Regions from separate parts of the Homo sapiens genome. Here all the other regions are linked to region 4. Evidence: promoter capture Hi-C in 16 types of primary human blood cells and fetal thymus (Javierre and others, 2016). All regions are on one chromosome and are shown on one strand. Each heading gives the region's core, a stretch centred on a gene start or on the middle of the fragment in contact. The rest is flanking DNA. Distances are from core to core; before and after follow the strand shown.

What was found. Contacts are between HindIII fragments. The CHiCAGO score rates a contact against its expected background, and 5 or more counts as called.
Region 1: a fragment that was not itself captured here is called in contact with the fragment with the promoter of METTL17 in region 4 in 1 of 17 cell types (M0 macrophages); the score reaches 5.2 in M0 macrophages.
Region 2: a contact is called between a fragment that was not itself captured here and the fragment with the promoter of METTL17 in region 4, in 12 of 17 cell types (monocytes, M2 macrophages, M0 macrophages and 9 more). The highest score is 15.9, in monocytes.
Region 3: a contact is called between a fragment that was not itself captured here and the fragment with the promoter of METTL17 in region 4, in 1 of 17 cell types (monocytes). The highest score is 5.5, in monocytes.

What each region holds. Positions count from the first base shown.
Region 1 is chr14:20,494,162-20,496,861 of GRCh38, forward strand. No RefSeq gene overlaps it. Among named protein-coding and RNA genes, the nearest start is that of RNASE10, 10 kb to the right of the region's middle. The HindIII fragment of the contact is 946 bases long and covers 955-1,900 here.
Region 2 is chr14:20,705,605-20,708,304 of GRCh38, forward strand. It overlaps EGILA (EGFR interacting lncRNA), which reads right to left and starts at 1,337. Exons shown (of 4, transcript NR_174964.1): 1 at 1,143-1,337. The HindIII fragment of the contact is 860 bases long and covers 918-1,777 here.
Region 3 is chr14:20,646,703-20,649,402 of GRCh38, forward strand. No RefSeq gene overlaps it. Among named protein-coding and RNA genes, the nearest start is that of TRY-GTA5-3, 5.1 kb to the right of the region's middle. The HindIII fragment of the contact is 5,518 bases long and covers 1-2,700 here.
Region 4 is chr14:20,988,563-20,991,262 of GRCh38, forward strand. METTL17 (methyltransferase like 17) reads left to right here and starts at 1,418. Exons shown (of 14, transcript NM_022734.3): 1 at 1,418-1,515; 2 at 1,668-1,821; 3 at 1,902-2,036. The coding sequence starts at 1,441. RefSeq lists a silencer at 1,065-1,194 and an enhancer at 1,945-1,994. The HindIII fragment of the contact is 15,587 bases long and covers 1-2,700 here.

The sequences.
Region 1 (2,700 bases), core at 178-2,677, 490 kb before region 4:
AAGACCATCCTGGCTAACACGGTGAAACCCCATCTCCACTAAAAATACAAAAAATTAGCCGGGCATGGTGGTGGGCACCTGTAGTCCCAGCTACTCGGGAGGCTAAGGCAGGAGAATGGCATGAATCCGGGTGGCGGAGCTTGCAGTGAACCGAGATTGCGCCACTGCACTTCAGTCTGGGCAACAGAGCCAGACTCCATCTCAAAAAAAAAAAAAAAAAAAAAAAAAAGAATAGTTTACTTTATTATAAAGGCTTGTGATCAAGTTGTGACAGGCTATTAGTATTGTTATTCTCCGGTGTAACTATTGATTTCAGCAATAATTTATGAGTGTAGTATTATCTTTAAAGTGAAACCCATGTTTATTTTTATGTGTTTATTTGCTTACACCTTCACCACCACAAGAAACCCTCCCACCCACCTTTTTTTTTAAGACAGAATTTCACTCTTGTCGCCCAGGCTGGAGTGCAGTGGTGCGATCTTGGCTCACTGTAGCCTCCACCTCCTTGACTCGATCCTCTTTGATCCTCTGGATTCTCTCACCTCAGTCTCCATGCCCAGCTAATTTTTATTTTTATTTTTTTATAGAGATAGGATTCTACCATGTTGCCTGTCACGTGTGTCCGTGTGAAGAGACCACCAACGGGCTTTGTGTGAGCAATAAAGCTTTTTAATTACCTGGGTGCAGGCGGACTGAGTCCAAAAAAGGAGTCAGCAAAGGGAGATGGGGTGGGGCTGTTTTATAGGATTTGGGTAGGTAGTGGAAAATTACAGTCAAAGGGGATTGTTCTCTGGCGGGCAGGGGTGGGGGTCACAAGGTGCTCAGTAGGGGAGCTTCTGAGCCAGGAGAAGGAATTTCACAAGGTAATGTCATCAGTTAAGGAAGGAATCGACTGTTTTCACTTCTTTTGTGATTCTTCAGTTGCTTCAGGCCATCCGGATACTTACACGTGCAAGCTTGGGCTCAGACGCCTGACATTGCCCATGGCTGGTTTGAACTCCTGAGATCAAGCAATCTAACTGCCTTGGCCTCCTGAAGTGCTGGGATTACAGGTGTGAGCCACCATGCCATCCAAGAAACCCATTTTTAAACTAAGAATGCCTTTTTCCATCAACTCATTTCCTCAACCATAAACATTTTGTGATTAACAGTGCCCAATTTCCTGGGAAAGTAACCCAGCAGGTTTGGCTTCATCTGGCCTTTATTCAAGATGAGTCACTCTGATTGGGACACCTCGAATACTGGTGCAAATACCCAAAATGAAACAAAACTGCCTGAACTTACTCATTACCCCCTTCCTTACAAAGCCAGCAGACTTCCTTTTTGTAATTTCCTTCCCCTTCAAGTTTCCTTTCCTTTCCTGTTCTTTCTTTTTTTTCATTCCTTTTTCCTTTCCTTTCTCCTTTCCTCTTTCCTGTCCTTTCCCCTTTCCTTTCTTTTTCTTTTCTTCTTTTCTTTTCTTTCCTTTCTCCCTTCCCTTCCTTCCCCTCCGCTCCCCTCCCCGCTTCTCCCTTTTCCCTCCCTTCCCCTCCCTTTCCCTTGCCCTTTCCTCCCCTCCTCTTCCTTCCTCTCCCTGCTCTCCCCTCCCTTCCTTTCCCTTCCTTTTCCTTTCCTTTACCTTTCCCTTCCTTTTCCTTTCCTTTCTTCTCCTTTCCATTATGGAAATTTTTAAACATGCACTGAAATTAGAAAGAAGCATATGATTTAATCCCCAAGTGCCCATTACATGCAGCTTCAACAGTAATCAACATTTTGCTCATCTTGTTTCATCTCTTCTCCTTATTTTGTTATTTTTACTTATTTGTTTATTGCTGCAGTATTTTAAAGTTAATTGTGAGTTTATTTTTAATGGAGTCTCTGTCTCCCCATGGTACAACTTGAGGCTGGGCAGAGGAAACCAAGCTTGATGAGTTCAGTGCCTCTGCCTGCCTCCCTGGCTCTCCATTGCCGCCTCACAGTTGGAATCAGGTGCGAAAGCTATTTCACAACCTGATATTTATTCTTCTCATAAATGTTGTTGACTACCTTCATTGTTCCACACACTTTGCTTGGCACTGAGGACAAGAAGAGAGATGGCATAGGAAGCTCTCAGCTCAGTGTGCTGGAAGATAAGTAAAAGGGCAATCCTGACGGTTTGGCCTGATTATTTCCACAGGTGGAAGAGTTTTATTTACCATATAGGCCTTCTTAAGTTTGCTTCGTAAATCTAGAGCCATATACTATTCACAAGGCCACAGAATGAACTTCTTTCTAGAAGTTTCCTTAAGAAATCTCAGACTGACTTTTAAAAGCCTCTATTATTTGCTGTTGTGAGGTTAGAAAAACCAAGCTCAAGAATCTCTTTCCACTAGATTTTTACCCACAGTACCTATACATTTGGATGAATTTCTTTCTTCTCAAGTTTCTCATATTTTCTTGAAGTTTCTTACCTGCCAAGAAGGTAAGGAACCAAGAACTAGGAAGTGACCTTCCTCACCTCCTGCAAGACTGGGACTCTGTAAGCCAGATCCCAGGTGGGTTTTTCTGAGAGGATTTTGTAGGCATTGGCTCATCAAAGCTGATTAAAGGAGCACCATTCTCAAAAGTGACATTCTGGCCCACACCTTGGTTGTGTAACTGTTTTTCTGTTATATCCTGGCAAAAAAGAGAAAAGATTCTTGCTGAACCTATTCAGATAACTATACTGTTATAAAAAGTAAG
Region 2 (2,700 bases), core at 98-2,597, 280 kb before region 4:
AAGACAGGAATATGCCCTTGACTTACTCACTGCTGAAAAAGGGGGACTCTGTATATTTTTAAATGAAGAGTGTTGTTTCTACCAAAATCACTCTGGCCTAGTATATGACAACATAAAAAAAACTCAAGGATAGCGCCCAAAAACTCACCAACCAAGCAAATAATTATGCTGAACCCCCTTAGGCACTCTCTAATTGGATGTCCTGAGCCCTCCCAATTTTTAGTCCTTTAATACATGCTTTTCTCCTTCTCTTATTTAGACCTTGTGTCTTCTGATCAGTTTCTCAATTCATACAAAACTGCATTCAGGCCATCATCAATCATTCTGTATGACAAATGCTCCTTCTAACAACCCCACAATATCACCCTTGATGCCCAAATCTTTCTTCAGTTTAATCTCTCCCACCCTAGGTTCCCATGCTGCCCCTAATCCCACTTGAAGCAGCCCTGAGAAACATTGCCCATTATCTCTCCATACCACCCCCCAAAATTTTTGCCGCTCCAACACCTCACCACTATTTTGTTTTGTTTTTCTTATTAATATAAGAAGACAGGAAATGTCAGACCTCTGAGCCCAAGCCTGCAAGTATACATCCAGATGGCCTGAAGCAACTGAAGAACCACAAAAGAAGTGAAAATAGCCAGTTCCTGCCTTAACTGATGACATTCCACCATTGTGATTTGTTCCTGCCCCACCTTAACTGATCAATTAACCTTGTGACATTCCTTCTCCTAGACAATGAGTCTCAGAACCTCCCCACTGAGCACCTTGTAACCCCTGCCCCTGCCTGCAAGAGAATAACCCACTTTGACTGTAATTTTCCACTACCTACCCAAATCTTATAAAACTGCCCCACCCCATCTCCCTTTGCTGACTCCTTTTTCGGACTCAGTCTGCCTGCACCCAGGTGATTAAAAAGCTTTATAGCTCACACAAAGCCTGTTTGGTGGTCTCTTCACATGGACGCACATGACAGGAGCAGAGATATATGAAGATGCTAGCTGCTTAAGAAGGGAAGTGTGAGTGTGTGTGTGTGTGTGTGTGTGTGTGTGTGTGCACATGTTTAAGGGCAAAACTGACAAAACTGAAAACATTTGAATTACAGCAGATACAGAAAGAAATCTTACCTGAACTTCTCTCACCTGACTAAAGCAGAGCCTCCCAGAAATGCCCCCACCATTATCTCCCTCCGGAGGGGTCCTCATGTAATGGTAATAGGTCTTTTGCCTGATGTGCACAGCATGTCAATATGCCAAGACACTGGGTTGCAGCAGAGAAAGAGGTTTAATTGCAGGGCTGCTGAACCAAAAGATGGAAGGAAACCTCAAATCCATTTCCTCAAAGAGTTTGAGGCTGTTGTTTTTAAGGATTTGGAGTAGGTGGAAATAAGAGATCACTAATTGGTTGAAGAATGCAGAGTGAAGTCATGGGACAGAGAGATGAAAAAACAGTATTCTCATGCTGATCAGTTCATCAGTTGGGCTCTTTAAAGTTGGTGGTGTCAGCTGTTCTGCCGGAATTCAGGATCTGCATAAACAATTCTTAAACAAAAGCCTTATGATTCTAATGTCAAAGATCTTATCTATGGGAACAATGAGAATGCAAATTATCAGTAGCTAGTGTTCGTGAGTTTTGGTTACAAGGAAGTGGGTCAAAGTGTAGCCTGATTAACACTTACTCATAATTATATTTTTGTCCAGGATTCTTGTTAACCGTGTGAGGATTACTTCACCCAGACAGGAGATATTCCAAGAAAATTGTGTAAAACTTTATCCAAAGCTTCTATTTGTCTTTCCCAAAAGTCATTTGTTTTCCTATAGAAGTCATTTCTCCCTCCTTCTTTTCCCCTATGAGTTGATAACTAAACTTCTGTCTCTAGCTCTTCATCAAGCCTCTTCATCTGAATGCTTCCACAAGTTATGAATACAACTTGTTTTCTTTCCCCCTGCTAACCTGTCTATAGTTAATTCACAGGCTCCCACCCACTGAACCAAAGTTGGTAGAGGGAAAGTTTTCCCTCCTAATAGCATGTCTGTGTATATTTAGAGTGAGAAAGAAGGATGAAGAGATAATTCGTCTTTGTCACCATCCAGGTAGTCATGGGAGTTGGGACCTGTGGTATAATAAAAAATAAATTTGAACTTAGTTCCTGGTTCCTGCCACAGACCTTCTAAAATGCTTGGAATTTCCTGAGTGATAGTGTAACCAAACTAAGGGTCAGCTGATCACTGCTCACTGCTCAAAAGCAAGACTTGCAAGACAAGAGTTGGTGCAGGAAAAGCAGGTTTATTCAAGAGCTAGCAACCTGAGGAGATGGTGGACTAGCGCCTCAAAGACTATTTCAAAATTTTAGGCTAGCTAAAGGGATTTTAAGAAGTAGGAGGCATGGAAACTATGAGCAGGAGTGGTGCAGGGTGCAGGTTTGCATGTCTTACTCTGATGGCTATCTTCAGTAACGGATCACCTGGAGGTCTGGCTGGCATCACCATGACTGCAACTAGCTTATGGATTAACCCCCCTCAGTGATTTTTCTGAGAATGTAGGATTCCACAATCTCAAATTCATGCCCGGTTTATTTCAAGATTAGCCCCTGGGTTTCTTAAGCAAGGATACGGCTAGATACTGAATAAATCAAAGGGTGAGGCTATTCATTATTGAAGCAGGCTGATTATTCCAGCTACAAACTCCCCACTGCCAATT
Region 3 (2,700 bases), core at 201-2,700, 340 kb before region 4:
GCCACCACACGCGGCTAATTTTTGTATTTTTAGTAGAGACGGGGTTTCACCATGGTGGCCAGGCTGGTCTTGAACTCCTGATCTCAGGTGATCCACTGCCTCGGCCTCCCAAAGCGCTGGGATTACAGGCATGAGCCACTACGCCCGGCCAAGCCACACGTGTTTTTAAACCTTAATCAAATCTTAAGGACTAAGGAAACTGCAGAAATAGATGAGATCAAAGACAGACAATTTGTTTAAAACAAACAAGCACACAGGCTGGGCTCAGTGGCTCAGGCCTGTAATCCCAGCACTTTGGGAGGCCAAGGCTGGTGGATCACCAGAGGCCAGGAGTTTGAGACTAGCCTGGCCAATATGGCGAAACCTCATCTCTACTAAAAATACAAAAATTAGCTGGGCCTGGTGGTGCCCACCTGTATTCCCAAGTACTAGGGAGACTGAGGTAGGAGGATGGCTTGAGCCTGGAAGGTGGAGGTTGCAGTGAGCCAAGATAGTGCCACTACACTCCAGAGCAAGACTCTGTATCAAAAACAAAACAAAACAAAACAAAACAAAACAAAACAAAAAACGCTATTTGACCAGTTGACATTGGCTTTGGTATTTAGCTTATAATACTTTTTCTTTTTTTTGATACAGTGTTTTTGCTCTGTTGCCGCCCAGGCTAGAGTGCAGTGGAACACTTTCGGCTCACTGCTACCTCCGTCTTCCGGGTTCAAGTGATTCTCCTGCCTCAACCTCCCGAGTTGCTGGGATTATAGGTGTCTGCCACCACGCCCAGCTAATTTTTGGAGTTTTAGTAGAGACAGGGTTTCACCATGTTGACCAGGCCAGTCTCAACTCCTGGCCTCAAGTGATCCGTCCGCCTCGGCCTCCCAAAGTGCTGGGATTACAGGCATCAGCCACCGCAACCGACCACTTATAATACTTTCAAACTAACTTGATCATAGGAATTTCCTAGTTTTTTTTAATGAAAGTAAACCATGTTAGAAGAAAAAATTGTATTTATTTTTAAAGCATACTCACATGGTTCAAAAATAAAAATGTATAAATTGAAAAGTTCTAGTCCCCCACATTCCTATTCACCCCATCCCCCTCGCCTAATTAACCATTTTCATTAGTTCATTGGCCTCCTTCCAGTGTTTTTTGTGTATAAACAAGGAAATAACTAAATGTTTACTTATTTACTTGACACTTTCTTACACAGTTCTGCACCTTGTTTCTTCTTTTCCCCTGGAAAACCTTCCCTGTCAGAAAATAAAGAACAAAAGAAAAATGTATAAACCAAGAAGACTACTAGAATGACACATCTATTGAATGAATGAGTTGCAACATTCTTGAATTACATGTCTGCTTTAATCATTGTTTGATATCTCTTTAGCTTCAATTTTCCTTACAAGTAAAAATCATATTGTAATGGAAACTGTATCAAAAAATCTAATTGACACTTTGTAAATAAAAATGAGCTAAAGTAAAATGAAATGATATCTGGAATTTTCTTCAAAATAAAGTGAGGGCTATAGATAAAACTTTCTTGGCCATGAACTGGGAATTCATGGAGCTATATGTCAGCTATAACTGTGGTTCATTATACTATTCTCTCTATTTTTAATATGTTTGAAATGTTTCATAATAAAAAGCCTCAGAAATATGTAGTGAAAATCAAGCATCTATTTCAAGAAAACTCTAAATTTTTAGAATACGATTTTCCCAGTTAAAAATTAATAAAGGTGTGAAATACTTCCCTGAATATGGAAACTCTAGTTCCACAAAATTAACCAGCCAGCCACTGGAGAATGTCAAATACCATGTGGGCTACTCAGAGCCAGAAAATGTAAAACTATAATGAACTACCAATTCCAAGAGGAACTTAACTTTCTCAGCAACAACCTGCCTTCTGGTTCAAAAGGAGTGGAGGCAATATAGAAACACACATAAACACAGAATCACAGTCTAGAATAAGTTTTTTTGTTTTTGTTTTTTTTGTTTTTCTTTGAGGTTGAGTCTCCCTCTGTCACCCAGGCTGGAGTGCAGCGGCGCTATCTCGGCTCACTGCAGCCTTCGCCTCCCGGGTTCAAGCGATTCTCTTGCCTCAGCCTCGTGAGTAGCTGGGATTACAGGCATGAGCCACCAGGACCGGCTAATTTTTGTATTTTTAGTAGAGAGGGGGTTTCACCATGTTGGCCAGGCTGGTCTCAATCTCCTGACCTCAAGTGATCCACTGCCTCAGCCTCCCAAAATGCTGGTACCACAGACATGAGCTACCGTGCTGGGCCTATGGAGATTTGATTGAGTTAACAGATTTCAGAACCTATCTTTTTCATTATGACAAATTCTTTAATATAAAACTTAACCTTTTTTCCTTTTCTTCCTTTTTCTTTTTCTTTTTTAACACATAGGAAAACAAGACAGAGTGCTATTACCAAGTCTCGTAGTAAGAGGATGTCTTTGTTCAGGCTGCTATAACAAATTACCATAAATAGGTAAACAACAAACATTTGTTTCTCACCATTCTAGAGGCTGGAAATTTGATATCCCAGAGCCAGCATGATGGGGTTCTTGGTGGGGCTCTTTCTGGTTTATAGAGGGCAGTCTTCTTTCTGTGCCCTCACATGGAGGAAAAAAAGCTAGCTAGCTCTGTGGCCTCTTCTTATAAGAAGACTAATTTCGTTCATGAGGGCTCCAGCCTTACATGCTAATGAT
Region 4 (2,700 bases), core at 168-2,667:
GCATTCTCACTGGAGGGGTAGAGGTCACTGTGGTGACCCTTTTGAGCACCCAGGAAAGATTCCCAGGTAAAAGGAGGACTGAGGAAAAGCTGGAAAAGAGGCAAGTGTCAGCCTAGGATGTGTCAGTGGGCCATGCATTCATCTACAGGAAGGGCGGTTCCGCCTGGAAGAGGCAGAGCGGCCCTTCTCCCCCTGTCCACCCATGTCTCCTCACCCCACCTCACCCCGAGATGAGGAGCCCTGAGAGAGCTGGCAGGCTGCAGTCGGTGAGGTCTGCAGATTTGGGGAAGAAGTCGAATAAGGTAGAGAACCACAGAAGGAAAGTCCAATTAGGGCGCTGGGGCCTGAGATCATCAGGCCCTAGCCTGATGACTCAGGAGTCTAGCCCTCCAGATGAACTGGCTGGTTCCACACACAGGTCAAGTGGATGTGCTGGGAGAACATCCTAAACCTGTAACGGAAATTAGGGGGCCAGGAGCCCACAGAAATCACACACTGGGTGAGCTCAAGTGTTCGGAGACTGAGGTAGCAGTTGTCCACTGTCAGGTCCCGAAAGTAGATATCGCCTTGCATATGCCATTTATCCTTCTGATGCTCTAGTGAATGAAGGTGTTGATGAGCTTGCAGACTCTGGAGACCATTCCCCTATGCTATATTATCACGTCACAATAGTGGCTGGACCCACCTGAGATTCTGCACCTCAGGTAATCAGACGGCTACTGTCTAAGTCCTGGGCCTGGGGGAAACACTCTGACGTAGCAGCAGACACAGGAGGGTCCCCGTCAGAACCATGTTTTCTGTGAAGTGGGGATCAGTCCTTTTCCCTGAAGTACCTAGCACATAGGTGTTCTCAGTAAGTGTTATGTTAGCTTACTAAGAAGACTGGTCTCATTTGAAGAGAAATTAACAAATGTAAAAAAATAAATAAACCTATTAACTAGGTTTAATATTTATCAAACTATTAACTATTCAATAATCATTTAACTATTAATTTCTGTTTTCTTCAGTCGCTTAAATCTGATTTTTCTCTTCTTTCCGTTACTGCAGTCTCCCTTTTTCACACAGGGAAACAACCCAAGACTCAGAGTTCTCCGCGGAGGAATGCAAAGAACACAGGAAGTCAGTACTCCCAGAAACAGTCTTTGCTGGCGCGCTCACACCCAACCCCATCCCGCCCCCGTCCCGTCCCGCCCCGCCCCACCCCACCCTCTTGATTTCTGGGGCCGGTGACCAGGCCCAACGCAGCCTTCAAGTCGGCCCAAACACGGTTTCTGCCTCAAGGATTATTTATATAACCATTGCTTATTGGCTGCTGGCAAACACTCGCTCTTCTCGTTGGCTGAAACTGTCGGGAGAAGTTCTGCGAAGGCTGCTCCTTGCGGCGTTGGGACTGAGGGTCACAGGCACCTGTATTTCCGTTTCCGGTTCGCCTCCGGAGCCATGGCGGCGGCACTGAAGTGTCTACTGACATTAGGAAGATGGTGCCCCGGCCTTGGAGTGGCTCCCCAGGCCCGGGTGAGTGCCTACATTCCCTGCTGTCGGAGAGACTCTGGATCTGCAGAGACATCTCCGCGCAGAGGAGGAGCGCTCCTGGCAGCCCCCGCCCTAGCGATTGCCAGCAACTTTCCTTTCTGCCAGGAAATCAACCTACCTTTCTCTGCCTGCAGGCGCTCGCCGCCTTAGTACCCGGAGTGACCCAGGTAGATAACAAGTCCGGTTTCCTGCAGAAGAGGCCTCATCGCCAGCACCCTGGCATCCTAAAGCTGCCGCACGTGCGGCTGCCACAGGCACTGGCTAACGGTGCCCAGTTATTGCTACTTGGTGAGTAACGGCGGGAAAGCGAGAAGAAACGGGACTGGACCTACATGCAAGTGATTCCGCTTTTCGTCTTTGGCCCATAGGGAGCGCTGGGCCCACTATGGAGAATCAGGTGCAAACACTGACCAGTTATCTCTGGAGCAGACATTTGCCTGTAGAGCCAGAGGAGTTGCAAAGACGGGCTAGGCATCTTGAGAAAAAATTCCTGGAAAACCCAGGTAGGACTTAAGAATAATTAAAAAGTGGGCGAGATTGAAATATCGGTTAGAAATGAAGAGTAAGAAATAATTCTACAATCTCTCAGATACTGAAGTCTCTTATTTGACTTTCTAACCAGAGCAGCAGTTGTTACAATGATGCCTTACTAAAAGAAGGTAGATTATTTTAGAGATTGCTTAGGTAAAGGTCAGAATGTCCCAGTATACTGTTTTTTGTTTGTTTGTTTGTTTTGTTGTTTTGTTTTTGCTTTGAGACAGAGTCTTGCTCTGTCACCCAGGCTGAAGTGTAATGCTCGATCTCGGCTCACTGCAACCTCCGCCTCCCGGGTTTAAGTGATTTTCCTGCCTCAGCCTCTTCAGTAGCTGGGATTACAGGCGTGCACCACCACACCCGGCTACTTGTATTTTTAGTAGAGACGGGGTTTCATCATGGTGGCCAGGCTAGTCTCGAACTTCTGACCTCAGGTGATCCGCCCACCTTGGCCTCCCAAAGTGCTAGGATTACAGGCATGAACCACCGCGCCTGGCTACCAATATACTGTTAAAATCTAGATATTTATTTTTTTCTGCAAGTCCACTGGATTAGGACCTTCTAAGTTTTTATTCAGGTAAAATAAAGTCCCTGGATGGTCCCTGCCCAGTACTGAAACCCTCTTCTGGGATA